2 separate regions of the Homo sapiens genome follow, and region 2 is linked to region 1. Evidence: promoter capture Hi-C in 16 types of primary human blood cells and fetal thymus (Javierre and others, 2016). All regions are on one chromosome and are shown on one strand. Each heading gives the region's core, a stretch centred on a gene start or on the middle of the fragment in contact. The rest is flanking DNA. Distances are from core to core; before and after follow the strand shown.

Evidence for each region. The method cuts DNA at HindIII sites, captures the fragments that hold promoters and counts their contacts. A CHiCAGO score of 5 or more calls a contact.
Region 2: a contact is called between a fragment that was not itself captured here and the fragment with the promoter of SEC22C in region 1, in 1 of 17 cell types (fetal thymus). The highest score is 5.3, in fetal thymus.

Annotation. Positions count from the first base shown.
Region 1 is chr3:42,577,321-42,585,192 of GRCh38, forward strand. SEC22C (SEC22 homolog C, vesicle trafficking protein) reads right to left here and starts at 4,647. Exons shown (of 7, transcript NM_032970.4): 1 at 4,526-4,647. It also overlaps a transcript of SS18L2 not described here. RefSeq lists enhancers at 4,114-4,940, 4,933-5,062 and a silencer at 4,403-4,732. The HindIII fragment of the contact is 16,658 bases long and covers 1-5,398 here.
Region 2 is chr3:42,011,562-42,019,433 of GRCh38, forward strand. It overlaps LOC107986077 (a long non-coding RNA gene), which reads right to left and starts at 2,008. Exons shown (of 2, transcript XR_001740668.2): 1 at 1,863-2,008; 2 at 457-1,401. It also overlaps a transcript of TRAK1 not described here. RefSeq lists enhancers at 1,691-1,760, 2,741-2,880, 3,274-3,775 and silencers at 1,941-2,060, 2,151-2,220, 2,261-2,420, 2,481-2,550. The HindIII fragment of the contact is 945 bases long and covers 3,149-4,093 here.

The DNA.
Region 1 (7,872 bases), core at 3,397-5,896:
AAAGACAAGCTAGAAATTGGGAGAAAATATCTGTAAACCACATATCTGATAAGCAACTCAAATCTAGAATGTATAAAGAACTCTTGAAATTCAACAGTGAAAAAACACAAACAATCCAATTTTAAAATGGGAAAAACACACATACAGACATTTCACAAAGAGGATATATGGATGGCAAATCAGAGCATGAAAAGATATTGAGCTATTATGAAAATGCAACTTGAGACCCCAATGAGATAATACTACCTACCCATCAGAACAGCTAAAATGATAAATAGTGACAGTATCAAACACTGGCAAGCATGGAGACAAACTGGATCTCTCATGCATTACTGGACTGTAAAATGGTATACTCTAGAAAAGTCTGGGCCAGGCGCAGTGGCTCATGCCTGTAATCCCAGCACTTTGGCAGGCTGAGGTGAGTGGATCACCTGAGGTTAAGGGTTCGAGACCAGCCTGGCCAACACGGTGAAACCCCATCTCTACTAAAAATGCAAAAATTAGCTAGGCATGGTGGTGGGCACCTATAATCCCAGCTACTTGGGAGGCTGAGGCAGGAGAATCACTTGAACCTGGGAGGCGGAGGTTGCAGTGCGCCAAGACTGCACCATTGCACTCCAGCCTGGACAACAGAATGAAATTTCATCTCAAAAAAAAAAACAAAAACAAAACACAGTTTGGCAGTTTCTTTTAAAACTAAACATGCAATTATTGTACAATCTACCAATCACACTCCTGACATTTATCCCAGAGAAATAAAAATTTGTGTCTACACGAAAACCTCTGTACAATTGCTCATTGCAGCTTTATTTATAACAACCAAACCTGAAAACAACCAAAATGTCCTACAAATAGTGAATGGTTAAACAAACCGCAGTATATTCATTCCATGGAATACTACTCAGCAAAGAAGAAGAATAAACTATGGTCCTGGTACACAGAACAACTTGAATGGATCTCAAGTGCATTATGCTTGGTTATAAAAAGCCCGTATCAAAAGGTTATATACAATATGCATCCTTTTACGTAACATTCTTGAAATGACAAAATTATAGAAATGGAGGGCTGATAAACAGTTGTCAGAGGTTAGGGATGGTAGAGAGGAAGGGAATGGGTGTGACTATGAATGAACAGCCAAAGGCATCTGGTGATGGAATAATTCTGTATCTTGATTGCGGTGATGATTACAGGAATCTACACACGATAAAGTGACAGTACTACACACACACACACACACACACACACACACACTTTATACCAACATCAATTTCCTGGAGTTGCTGTTTACTAGAATTATATAATATGTAATCAATGGGGAAAACTAGGTGAAGGGTACATGAGACTTCTCTGTACTATATTTGCAAATTCCTGCAACTATAATTATCTTAAAATAAAAGCTGGAAAAAAGTATTAACTTAAGATCCTCATGTACTGGTTACTTAAATTATGCTAATACTTTTTTGTTTAAATATAATTTTTAAATATCCCCACCAATATCTTATCTGCTAATTAACTGTAATTTTGATGTTTTATGCATGAACACTGAAGGGCACACTTTATAGTGAATAGCTCCTTTACTACATCACATTTCTAAACTGGAAGGTACTATAATCTCAGGACTCTTTGAAATAAAGCTGCTCAAAGACAACTAGTATTCAACTTAAAACAGGAAAGCGGCTGGGTGCAGTGGCTCATGCCTGTAATCCCAGCACTTTGGGAGGCAGAGGCAGGTGGATCACCTGAGGTCGGGAGTTCGAGAACAGCCTGACCAACATGGAGAAACCCCGTCTCTACTAAAAATACAAAATTAGCTAGGTATGGTGGTACATGCCTGTAATCCCAGCTATTCAGAAGGCTGAGGCAGGAGAGTCACTTGAACCCAGGAGGCAGAGGTTGCAGTCAGCTGAGATTGTGCCATCACACTCCAGCCTGGGCAACAAGAGCAAAACTCCATCTCAAAACAAAACAAAACAAAACAAAACAAAAAACTAGGAAAGCAGGCTGAGCATGGTGGCTCATACCTGTCATCCCAGCATTTTGGGAGGCTGAGGCGGGAGGACTGCTTGAGTCCAAGAATTTGAGACCAGCCTGGGCAACACAATGACACCCCATCTCTACAAAAAAAAAAAAAAAAAGCCAGGCATGGTGGCACACACCTGTGGTCCCAGCTACTTGGGAGTCTGAAGTGGGAGGATCACTTGAGCTCAGGAGGTCAAGGCTGCGTGAGCTGCGACTGCATCACCGCACTCCAGCCTGGGCAACAAAGTGAGACCCTGTCTCAAAAAACAAAAAAAAAAAAAAGAAAAGAAAAAAGAAAAGAAAAGAAAATCAATTCCACAAGGACAAAGGCAGCTTCAGAATGTTCATACAAGAGACACTGGAATGTCTTCCAGATCTTACCAGATCCTTCCACAAGGCAGTGGATGTCATAACCTACCACCTTGCCTGGTACATATTAGGAAGCACTCAGTAAACACTGCTAAGTTAAATGAATGAATGACCTAAGGGCTGCCTTATTTTTGCTCACTGAAACAAGAAATGCAGGTTTACAGATCCCTTGCCATAGTTCTGATCTACAGTTTGAACACTTTTCCACAATAAATCTGTATTTGGAGAGAAAAAGAGAAAGGTTTATACAGATGAAATTTGTCTAAAAGTAGAGTGAAGTAGTAATCAAATACACAGCATCCGTGTTACTAGGTTTTATAAAAACATATTTTAATTTGCCTCCCTTATTTCCTAAATCTTCTTCCCAGCATCTGTTTATAAACTGCTCATGTCATAGATTATCTCTGTTCTATTAACAAAGACTTTATGCCTATGCTGCAGGCTACCCTTGATCCTGTTTTTTCTTCCACCTTTTACCCTTAACCCCTCCTCAAGCCCCTACCACATGCACTGAGAGAGAGAGAGGCTGAGAGAGACAGAAAGAAAGAGAAAAACAGAGAGAAAGAGAGAGATGACTGCACCTTGCAAAATAGGAATTTAGACAAAACAGGCTTCATTTGGCACACAAATATTCAAACACAAAGTGTTCACCATAAAGTATATACAGAATACAGAAGACTCAAATACACAATACAGAAGACAAAACTGAGTTGTGCCACCCTTACTGAATTCACCTTCAGCCACAGGACTTGAGAACTGGTTACCAAATCTGTAGATTCTATTAAGGCTCCAAGTTGCTTGGGGATGGAGTGAAGAGGAGGGTAGAGGTCAGTTTCGTCATTTGTTAGGAACTAAGAGGGGTAGGGAACTAAACTTGATAGGACCTTTTACACTGATAATGTTATTAAATGCTTGTAACTATAAGGTAGACATAATCTATACCGGATAGGTGGGAAAACTGCAGCTGTAAGGCTCAAGAGGTAAAGCTAGATTCAACCCAGACTTCCTTACTTCAAATATTCTAAAGCCTAGGATCTTTCCACCACATCCTTCTTCTACAAATCCAACTTTGGGAATTACAGCTACTCCCTTTCTCTAAAATAATTTCTTCTCCTTAGAGCACTAATAAGCTAATCAGAGACCTGTTGGTAGAGGAAGGAGCCTGAGATTACACTTGTTACAACTGCTCTTTATCCACTGTATTACCTTGAAGTCAGGTTGTCCTCTCTATGATCATGTTACTTTTTGAATTTAGTTGATTTCTAAGTTATTCTAAGAATAAAAAACACTGACTCCAAGATGGCTTCTGTTGCAAATGCAAACACTTAAATCAGAGCTATTAACATTGTCCAAAATGTACTTTCCAGAGGAAACACTATTTGTTTATTTAATTCTATCTGGCAACGTTAAACCATTTCCAGTTGCTTCCATTTTTCATTTTACTAAAATTATCTTTAGTGGGATCAACTCTTCTCTGCAAAATGTAATTAAATATTACCCTATATGTTGGTTCTGAGCTGTATTTTTTTCTGACCATGTCACAAATTTCACCAATTACTTTTCACACTGGCAATAGTCTTCCGTGGCTTTTATTTCTACAAACCTAATTTTTCCCCGAGTGCTTTATCCTTCTGGCTCTGGAGGTACATGTGTAAATCTGTAATGAACACAAAACCTGTAATGGAACGTCCTACACCTAGTGCTCTGAAAAGTTGGTTCAGTGTATCCAATATTTAAAGTCTAATAACACGGGCATGCTAAGGGAAGTTTGCTATTCAGATTAAACAATGCTCTGACGTGAGCTTCGTGAATGGTTAAAGAAACAATCGTCCCCTTTCTCACTCCCCATCTCTTCCAACTGGGAGAAGCCCTTGGCGCCCATCTGTCAGCCCAGGGTTCCTGCAGGCGCGTGCCTTGGGTGGCCCCGGGGTCCGGGAACAGGCTGACGGGAGAAAGGGGACAGAGGACTCCAAGAAGCCCAGTGAAGCCCCGTGGGGAGCCCCATGGTCAAGGCCGGGACTGAGGGCCGGGTGGGCCCTGGGCCGCCTCCACCTCTGGGCCCGCCCTGCGCCACACCCTAACCCGCCTGCTCTTGGCTAACGGGCCGCGGCACCCGCCTCCGCCCGCCAGCCCTCACCTCGCCCGGACGGCGGCCTTCGGAAGTCGGCGCCTGCCAGCTACCCGCCGCCTCCTCAGCAATCTTAGCCGACCGGGAGGGCTCGGCCCAGGTCACCGGCAGCCCAGGCGCAGGTAGGCCGTGGTGCGCGTGCGCGAGTCTTGAGCCACCCCACCTCCCCCCTACCCCGCATTCGCTGCTGCTAAGCGACACCCGCACCCAAACCGACCAATCCCGGCGCGCCTCCACAGCCCCCGTCCCGGCGAAGGCGCGAACGTAGTGGTTCTTAAAGGGCTGCGACCCAAACGGAGAGGGAGTGTGACGGGGGCGCGCGCCTCCCAACTTTCTTCCCACCTCCCGGCTCTCACCGCGGCGGTTTGAGATCCAAGCCTGTAATTCTCACGTCCGGAGGTGAGAAGGAGCCTTCGTGATCTAAGCTCGATTCCTGCCGGGGTAGCAACCGGACTGACGTCTGGAGGCGGGGAGGCTCCGCGTGACAGAGTGATAACGCCCGGGGCGTATGTTCTGCGGTCCGCGCGGCTGGGCGGGAGGCCCGAGATAGGCAAACCAAAGAGCACAACCTACTGCCAGCCTGGATGGGGCGCCAAAGTCCGACCCAGGGGGACACACCCCAAGCTGGGGACCGAGGCACCCACAGATGGATGACTGGCTGGAAGGAGATTAGGTAGGTAGCAGAGTCCGTCCATTTATTCATTTAGCAAGTATTGAGCACCTGCTATGTGCCAGGGGTTGTGGACAAAGCGAGGAATTCCTGACACGAAAAACTATGTTAAGAGAGGAGGCAGGGTGAGAGCACCCTTCAAACAATCAAACACCTGTATAAATACAAACTGCTCTTCAGGGAGGAGCAGGGGTTTTGGGAGAATTTACAGAAGCTTCTAGGCTGGTGTTGGGAATCACAGGAGGCTAACTAGGCAAAGGGGAGAGGAAGTGTGTTTCAGATGGAGAGATTAGCATGTATATAAGAACTCTGTGGAAGGCAGCAGAGCTCCTTTGAGGGATGAAAAGAAACCCAGAAAGGGGGAAATGGAAAGTTAGTGCTTAATAGGTACAGAATTTCAGCTGGAGAAGATGAAACAGTTCTGGAAATGGATAGTAGTGATGATCACACAACAATGTGAATGTACCAAATGCCACAGATCTGCACACTTAAAAATGGTTATGTACATTTTACCACAAAAAGAAAAGAAACTCAGAGTTTAGAGAATAAAGGAGTGGAGTGAGATCCACTAGAGCGAATAGAAGGGGCAGGACCATGTAGGATTTTATGGACCATAGTGGAAAGTTTAGGACCATAGAACACTGGTCAAAATTGCATTTTATAAAACTCACTTTGGCTGCTAAAGTGCAGATCAAAATGGAGAAGTCTCAACAGAGCTATGGTGGGACTGGCCTGGGAGCCAGTGCAGTCATCTGGGCAAGAGAGAATGGAGCTGGAGTGTGGACTAGGGTGAGAGTGAAGAAAAAGAGATCTAAGAAGGCTGCAGAGAAATGTAGGAGCAAAATCAATAGGACTTGGTGATGAGTTGGATGTGAAGGGGCGATGAAGCAGCTTCAAGGATGATGCCACTGTTCAGCCTTGGATAAATGGATGGATGGTGCAGGGATTCACAGATATGGAGAACACTGGAAGAGGAGATAAGATTGATCTTGAGCTCCATCTTAGACAAGTTGAATTTGAGGCACCTTTGAGACTTGGTTAGGATTTTGCGATGATTAGTTTTAGATGTCAACCTGACTAGGTTAAGGGATACTCAGGTAGCTGGGGGAACATTACTTCTGGGTATGTCTATGAGGGTGTTCCCAGAAGATATTGGCATTTAAGTCAATGGACTGAGTAAGGAAGATCTGTCCTCATCTAATATGCGCAGGCACCACATAATAGAACAAAAAGGCAGAGGAAAGGCAAATTCTCTACTCTGGAGTTGGGACACCCCTCTTCTGCCCTTGGCATCAGAATTCCCCGTTCCCCTAATCTCCTAACTCTAGGAGATTAGGTAGTAGAGTCCGTCCATTTATTCATTTAGCAAGTATTGAGCCTTTGGACTCCAAGACTTGTACCAGTGGTTCCCCAGGTTCTCCCGGCTTGGGCCTTGGACTGGGAGATACACCATTCAGCTTCCCTGGTTCTGAGGCCAAGTCTAAGACAGGGTAGTCTTGAACTGAAGCAGTCTACCAGCCTCCCTGGTTCTCCAGCTTGTAGATGGTCTATTGTGGGACTTCTCAGCCTCCATAACTATGTGAGCCAGTTCCCCTAATAAATCCCCTCCCATATATCTATAGATATAGATCTATATTGTAGATATATAGATATCACATTGGTTCTCTCTCTCTGGAGAACCTTGACTAATACAGATGTCAACACAGCAGGTGCATATACAGGTTGCAGGTCAATGTAGAGGTCTGGGCTGAACACAGACTTTTTTTGAGGCTGAGTCTCACTCTGTGGCCTAGGTTGGAGTTTAGTGGCACAATCTCGGCCCACTGCAACCTGCGCCTCCCAGGCTCAAGTGATTCTTCTGCCTCAGCCTCCCAAGTAGCTGGGATTACAAGCATCTGCCAACACGCCCAGCTAATTTTTGTATTTTTAGTAGAGATGGGGGTTTCACCATATTGGCCAGTTTGGTCTCGAAATCCTGGCCTCAAGTGATCTGCCCGCCTTGGCCTCCCTAAGTGCTGGGATTACAGGCGTGAGCCACCACGCCTAGCCGGGACATAGACTTTTGAAAGTCAGCATCATATGGGCGGAAATCGAAGTGGGGCTTACATAGCCAGAGAAAAATTACAAAATGAAAACTGAAGAGAATTGTGATACAGTCTAAGATAGCCTCCAGGGTTCACCACCTCCTGGGATTTATACCCTTGTGTAGTCCCCTCCCACAATGAGTCTCTGATAATGAGGGTAGGTCATAACAGGCACAAAGAAGGAGAAAAACCAGGAGATTCAGGGTTGGTAAAGGCAATTGAAAACCCTGTAGCATAAGTGCTCTTCAAATATGGGGAATTGGGGCCAGGTGTGGTGGCTCACACCTATAATCCCAGCACTTTGGGAGGCCAAGGTGGGTGGATCACGAGGTCAGGGACCAGCCTGTCCAACATGGCAAAACCCCGTCTCTATTGAAAAATTACAAAAATTAGCCGGGCGTGATGGTGGACATCTGTGATCCCAGCTACTTGGGAGGCTGAGGCAGGAGAATCACTTGAACCTGGGAGGAGGAGGCTGCAGTAAGCCGAGATCGCACCATTGCACTCCAGCCTGACCTACAAGAGCGAAACTCCATCTCAAAAAACAAACAAAACAAAACAAAACAAACAAACAAATATGGGGAATTGGGCTCTCAAAACTT
Region 2 (7,872 bases), core at 2,371-4,870, 570 kb before region 1:
GCCAGGCATGGTGGTGCACGCCTGTAATCCCAGCTACTCAGGAGGCTGAGGCAGGAGAATTCCCTGAACCTGGGAGGTGGAGGTTGCAGTGAACTGAGATTGTGCCATTGCACTCCAGGCTGGGCAACAAGAGCAAAACTCCGTCTTGGGAAAAAAAAAATACACACACACACACACATATATATATTTGGCCTAGTTTCCCCCAATGACAACATTTGCAAAACCTTAATATGATATCATAACTAGGATATTGACATTGATACAATTTACCTATCTTATTCAGATTTTCCCAGTTTTACTTGTACTCATTTGTGTGTATATTAAGTTCTAGATAATTTTATCACCTGTACTACCATACTCAAGATGTTTAACAGTTCCAAATTCACAAGGATCCCTTGTGTTGCCCTTTTATATCATACCTGCTTTCTTTCCACCTTACTTCATTCCCCAACTTGATGGATTTTTCCAAATCTTTTTATTTGGAAATAAGTTCAAACTTACAGAAATGTTCAAGTACACTCTATATGCTGATTCACTGATAATATGCACCTTACCTTTATTGCCCACTTGGCTTTATCATTTTTTCCTATCAAGATTTTTTTTCCCCTGAATCATTTGAAGGTAAGCTGCATACATTATGACCTTTACCCTTTCAAGATACTTTAGTGTGTATTTCCCAAGAATTAGATATTCTTGTACATAATTACAGTGGAAGTTATCAACATCAGTACATTTAACATTGATCCAATACTTTAATCTCTTACATGGATTCTGATTTTGTCAGCTGGAATGTCCGTGATGTATTTCCCCTCCTCTAGCACAGGATGCAGTCTAGGATCAGGCATGGCATTTAGCTGCCCTGACTCTTTTGCACCCTTTAATCTGGAACATTTCCCAAGCTTTCTTTTGATTTTAATGACCTTGACATTTTTGAATAATACAGACCCTTCCTCTTTTTAATAGATGTTCCTCATTTTGGGTTTGTCCGATGTTTCACTATCATGATTCAGGTTATGCATTGTCCCCAGGAATACTGCATAGCTGATGTGGACATGATATCCATCTGCTCTCATTGGTGATGTAAATTTTGATCACCTGGTTAAGATGCTGTCTGCCTGCCTCTTTGTATAGTTACTATTTCCGCTTTTGCTACTAACAGGTCTAAACCATCTATGGGGAGACACATCAACCCAGACAAATATCTGCCAGCCAGTAACAGCCCCCTAGAGTAAGCATTCATGGATGATTCTTGCCTGAGCCAATCTTCACTATACACTTGATGATCTCTTCAAGTCAAGTCTATGCCAGTATGAGAAATCAGGTTTTGCAGGGTTTAGTTTCCTTACACCTTTGGTTCTGGTCTGAGTCTTCTTCAAGTCCTCCCAATGTCCTCTATGACCCCTGGGTTGAAAAGAAGTAGACTCAGTAGCCTCAACTGGAAATGAGATCATGTGGGTTGTTCCCTGTTAAACCGTCCACAAGTGATTTGCATAATAGAGTGGCCTGTGAGCTCTTACTTCCTGGATCGGTTCCTGATCCCCTCTCTGCTGTCCGCCAGCCCCCTGCCTGTCACCCTTTGGTGGCATCTTAGTCCAACAGCCAGTTCCATCCCCTCCAGCCTTCCCCCCGTCCCCGGCTCCATCCTCCCTCCATTTAAGCCTAAGGGCGGCTTTGCTAGGAGACAGCCCGCCCTGCAGGAACAGAACGCCTGGACTTCCACTGTGTTCACGACAATCAGCGCCCCGGGCCGCGGGGGTCCCATCCTTCTCTTAGACTGACTCTGGAAGGACCCCGAGAAGTGCTAGAAGTAAATAAGCGCTCGGGGAGGGATGTGATCAGCTTTTCCGGATCCAGGTCTTTACCGGATACTTCTCTGTGCCCCACGGCGTGGGTAAAAGTGCAGGGGCAGCCGCGGGCGAGGAAGGCGGGGCGCGGCTCCAGGCGACTAGGACGTGGCCGGCGGGCATCCTGGAGGGCGGCCCGCAGGTGGCGGCGCGGGGCGGCGGGCGGGGCTGGGAAGGGGGAGGGCTCGGCGCGCGTCGGGCGGTGACGGCAGCGCGGAGGGGAGGTGCAAGCCGCCCGCTCGCGGGGGAGCCATGGCGAGAGGCCGCGCGGCGGCGCCCGCAACAGTGCCCGCGTCCGCAGCAGCGCCCCCGCCCGCCGCCCCGGGGCCCACCCGGCCGCCGCCCCCGCGCGCCCCGAGCCCTTGACGCCCGCGCGCCTCAAGCGAGGCGTCCCCCAGAGTGGGGCCGCGCGCGGGAGAGCCGGAGCGCAGCCTTAGCGTCCCCGAGAGTCTCGAACGCCCCGACGACCCCCGCGTCTCGGAACCCCGGACTCCGAGCCCAGGAGCGCCAGAGCGGCAGGCGGGCAGCAGGAGGCGGCGGCGCCAGAGCGGAGCCCCCGCGAGTGCCCCCGTGCCGCCCGGCCGGCTGCAGCGGAGGGAACCGAAGCCGCCGGGCGGCCGGGGCCGGGCCGAGAACGACGCGGAGGAAGCCCCCACCGAGGCCCCCCGGCACCGCGCCTGCTGCCGGGTTGCGCTCCGTGCACCTCTTGCGGGTAAGCCAGGGGTCCGCTCACCCGCGCCGCCTGCGCCTCGGGCCCAGGGGCTGGGGAAGGACACGGGTGTTCTGGGAGTGTCCGCGTGAGATAGTGGCGGCGTGAGAGGCCGGGCGCCGGGACCCTGCGGGGACAGCCCTCCTAATGCACCGGCCGCACCTGCAGGAGGCCCTCGGAGCCCGGAAAAGTGCCCCTAGGGCATCGTGTCGGCCACGCCGCGTGGCCTGGATTCCGCGCTCCGGCACTCCGAGGTGACAGTGAGGCGACCTTCAAAGAGCCTGGAGCTGAGCGCGGGCAGCACCCCGATTCCCACTCACCCGCAAAACTTGATGAAAATGACATCATCTGAGCGTGTCAGAGAGCAGAGAGCCTTTAGAGCCCTCCTTTGCATCCTTGAGAGTTAACAAGTTTACTTTGTCACTTTCTTGACCTGATTTTTAAAGTTCTTTTCTAGTCTCCAAGGTCAAGCTCTTGCAGGTAAAAACAAATGTAATGAACTGTATCGTTTCTTCTTTTGTAAAGTTGTGTTTCAGGAAAGATGTTAAAAGTCGGCCTGCTCTTGAGGCTGGTGCTGGGTGCCCCTTCCGCTTTAAGCTTGCCTGTTTTAGAACCCGTGGCTGCACTTGTTCAGACACTGAAATTAGCGTCCGCTTTGAGAGCCTTCAGAGTATTCGTCGTTGGACCGCTGATTTTTTTTTTTTTCTGATATGCTTCACTGGAACTTTATTTGCTTCAAAAGTGTAAACGTTGTCAATACTGTCTGTGAGTGTGTATTCGGGACTGGTAACCTTTTCTGGAGGGTCTTTTGTTTATCTGGAAGGAGAGTGGAGGTTACCATAGGGAAACGGTCTAGTTCCAGGGTCCTTTCCAATTTCCAACTACAAGAGCAGCGAAGAGGAAGGTGCTCAGACTAAGCTCTGATTAGCCCTGGAGCCAGTCTGCACTGGGGAGGGTCTCCCCAGATTGAGTGAAGGGACAACAGGCTGGGAGCTTGACTGGTAGGTTTGGAGAGTTGGACCTGGAGTGACAGATGGCGCCTTCCCCTCTGTCTCTCGGTTTGGAATGGTCATACTCGGTTGCTCTTTGATCTTGGACCTCAGCTTTGTCACAGAGGTTCCCAGCCCAGTGTAGCCTAAGCCAGCTGGAAAGCTGAGCCCGGCTCTGGGGGATGCTGAATCGGTTTAAAGCCCTTGTCTCAGGGCTGCGAGTTTGGCAACAGTTGGGTTTCAGCTTGGCCCCAGCACCAGCCGTTTCCTGTTTGATGCCCCAGGGACCAGTTTCCCATCCCCAGCGCTCGCTTGAGGGTGTCTCCACTCTGGCTGTGTTGCTTCTCCTTCTCTGTGGTCTTGGAGTGGGAAACCTGGACTGAAATTCCAACTCCTCTCTATTGGCTGTGTGACCTTACTTAACCTCTCTGTCCTGCTCTCCCCTCTCTGGGAGACAATGTTTTAAATGGAGGTGTCTGTAAAAGTTTGACTGAATGACATGGGAGCGTTTTCAGGTCTCCTTCCAACATGATTGGGTTTGTAATTTGGTAAGCTTTTTGAGCCCCAACAGGGATAATAAAGCATATAATAGTAATTATTGTTTTATAGGTTTATTATGAGGGTCAAATCAGGTAATATAAAAGAGCTTTGGGCCGGGCATGGTGACTTGTGCGTGTATTCCCAGCATTTTGGGAGGCTGAGGCAGGTGGATCACTTAAGGTCAGGAGTTCGAGACCAGCCTGGCCAACATGGTGAAACCCCGTCTCTACTAAAAATACAAAAATTAGCTGGGCATGATGATGGGCACCTGTAATCCCAGCTACTAAGGAGGGTGAGTCAGGAGAATAGCTTGAATCCGGGAGGCAGAGGTTTCATTGAGCCAAGATCCCGCCACTGCACTTCAGCCAGGGCGACAGAGCAAGACCCCATCTCAAAAACAAAAACAAAAACAAAAAACATAAAAATAAAAGGGCTTTCAAAAATAATAGAGCACTATTCACATTGAATGGAGTTCTTAAACTTTCACTTTCCAAACTAACAACACCTTAAGGTTTGCCATCTTAAGTGGACTTTGTTCCTGTCATTGCATTCTGGTTTTTTGTTTTTTTTTTTCTTTTTGAGTCAGAGTGTCGCTCTGTCATCGAGGCTAGAGTGCAGTGGTGCGATCTTGGCTCACTGCGGCCTCCACCTCACAGGTTCAAGTGATTCTTTGGCCTCAGCCTCCCGAGTAGCTGGGATTGCAGGCACCTGCCACCACGCCCAGCTAATTTTTGTATTTTTAGTAGAGACGGGGTTTCACCACTTTGGCCAGGCTGGTCTCAAACTCTTGACCTCGAGTGATCTGCTGGCCATGACCTCCCAAAGTGCTGGGATTATAGGCGCAAGCCACCACTCCCAGTCCCTGTCGTTGCATTCTGAGTCCCTGCCTCTGACCTTGTATATAGTAGGCCTCTGTAATTGTTTGGTGATTCTTGAATTAACCATCTGGGCTCTCCATCTTGACTTCGTGCTCCCAAGGTAGAGAACAGACCTTGGGCATTCTCCTCTCCGTCAGCTGTCGGAGTTTTTATAGATGCGATTGTTCTGTAGCACCATATAGCTCATAAGAGAGCCAAGGAGAGTAAGCAGATAGGTGGCCAGTTTTTCTGCAAGGGACAGTTCTTTTTTTACCCTTTGGGGCTCAAGTAAGAAAGGCATTGGAGGGCGAACAGTCATTTAAACTCACTGAGAGTTGCAGATATTCAGTAAAGCCTTTTGTGCATGCCAGAGCTTAATACTGTATGGTCGGGAAGTTTGATAAACTTTAAAGTACCATGACCAGCCTCTTCACATATATGATTCTGTGACCCTTGGTTTTGAAAATGGACTCTGACCACTGGCTGCGGTGGCTCACACCTGTAATCCTAGCACTTTGGGAGGCCAAGGCAGGTGGATTGCCTGAGCTCAGGAGTTCGAGACCAGCCTGGGCAACATGGTGAAACCCCGTCTCTACTAAAACACAAAAAAAGTAGCCGGGCGTGGCAGCATGCGTGTGTAATCCCAGCGACGTGGGAGGCTGAGGTAGGAGAATTGCTTGAACCCAGGAGGTGGAGGTTGCAGTGAGCCAAGATTGTGCCATTGCACTCCTGCCTGGGCGACAGAGTGAGACTCTGTCTCAAAAACAAAACAAAACAAAAGAAAATGGACTCAGATTTATTTAACTCATCTATATTTGGCATGCACTGTGATTTTTGTAGGGAAAGACAAGAGGATGTTCTTTTTAAAAGATGGAGATAGAACCCAAGGGCTTATGTGGGTTCTTAGGTTTTATTTTATTCTTGGACAGAGATACACTGTTGTTAGACAGAGATACACTGTTGAATGAATGGGTCTTCTGGCTTCTCACCTCCTTTTCCCCCCTTCTTTTCAAACAAATGTTCCCTATTCTGACTTGTCTTCTTAGATGTATCTAAGTGGAGGCCACTTGCAGTGTTGAAAAGTGCAAATTTTAGTGAAGAGACAGTAAATAATTGCATATGTGTAAAACTGGATGTCTCCTGAGTTACACAGAATACCAATGATGTTGAGCTGCTTAAAGGCTATGATAGGCATTTTATGAAAGGCTGTGTAGTATGATTCATTATAGTGAGAAATTTATTTAATTATTATTGTTAATAGTGCACCTGAGGTGAAACAGGGTGGAATGGGGTGGGAGGGGAGCTCTTGAAATCCTTGTTTGGACTTAATTTTTTTGTTTTCAAAATTTATTATTTTTATTTTACAGTGCTGTTCCTTGCAGAGCAGGGCTAACTCATAGGCAGTGTGCCTGTAGGCAGCCTGTTTGGACTTCCTTAAACACTTTTTTTTTCTTAAATAGAGACAGGTTCTTGCTATGTAACAGGTGAAGCTGGGAATAGCCCTTCCTAGAATGCTGAGGTGGGAGGATCACTTGAGCCCAGGAGTTCGAGACCAGCCTGGGCAACATAGTGAGACCTCATTGTTACAAAAAAAAAAAAAAAAAAGACAAAAGAAAAATTAGTCAGGTGTGGTGATGTGCACCTGTAGTTCCAGCTACTAGGGAGGCTGAGGTGGGAGAATCTCTTGAGCCCAAGAGATTGAGGCTGCAGTGAGCCATTATTGCACCATTGTACTCTAGCCTAGGTGACAGAGCGAGACCCCATCTAAAAAAAAAAAAAAATATTGCTGTCTGAGTCAAAAAGTGCTCTTAAGGAAAATGTACCTTGTTTTCCCTGAGGTTCTGGGGAATCCCCAGCATAAGCACATGTACCCCAGTTTGGGAATCGTGGAGCTGGATTATTTCTAGGGTCTCCTCTAGTTCCAGGACATTCAACAGGAGAGGATAGTCTATCCAGAGGAAGTGGATTTTGTACTAACATCCGACAAGGATGCTCCATCACAGTATAAATTATCCACATTTGAATGTTAAATAAGACCATGCTGTGGGTACTCAGGTGACTTTAAAAATCTTTTTTTTCTTTTAAGAAGTAGGAGAAAATAACTGTGAACATGTGGACTAAGTGGCTTGACATTTTCGAAAAGTATCTCTTTAGCATACTATTCAGAGCACTTATTGCATTCCTCCTTAATGACTAGAATTAGTTACTAGATAACATGATTATGTTGATTAAAAGATGTCACCGTCTACTAATTTATGTTGATACAGATGAACTATTAGCAAATCCTATCTTCCGTTACATAGATGCAGGTTGATTTATGTCACTTAAAATGCATATTAATGGCTGAGTGTGGTGGCTTACGCCTATAATCCCAGCACTTTGGGAGGTGGAGGCAGGTGGATTGCGAGGTCATGAGATCGAGACCATCCTGGCCAACATGGTGAAACCCCGTCTCTATTAAAAATACAAAAATTAGCTGGGCGTGCTGGTGGACGCCTGTAATCCCAGCTACTCGGGAGGCTGAGGAAGGAGAATGGCTTGAACCCGGGAAGTGGAGGTTGCATTGAGCCAAGATCGCACTACTGCACTCCAGCCTGGCAACAGAGTATTAAAAAAGAAAAAGAAAAAGAAAAAAAAAGCATATTAATTAGAATAGGGATATAGGATCTCACTTTTTTTTGTCTCTCTCCAGGATTACAGAGATAAAGCATTTATGCATATACAGAACCACGGGATTTTAGAAGTTGTCCATCAGTTCCTCTGGTTGTTTTGGTACAATAAAAAAGTGCTTTTTTTAGAGATAGAATCTCTGTTGCCTGGGCTGAAGTGCAGTGGCCTGATCATAGCTCACTGTAACCTTGAACTCCTGGACTCAAGCCATCTTCCCGCTTTGGCTTCCTGAGTAGCATGCGTGCTGCCACACTTGGCTAATT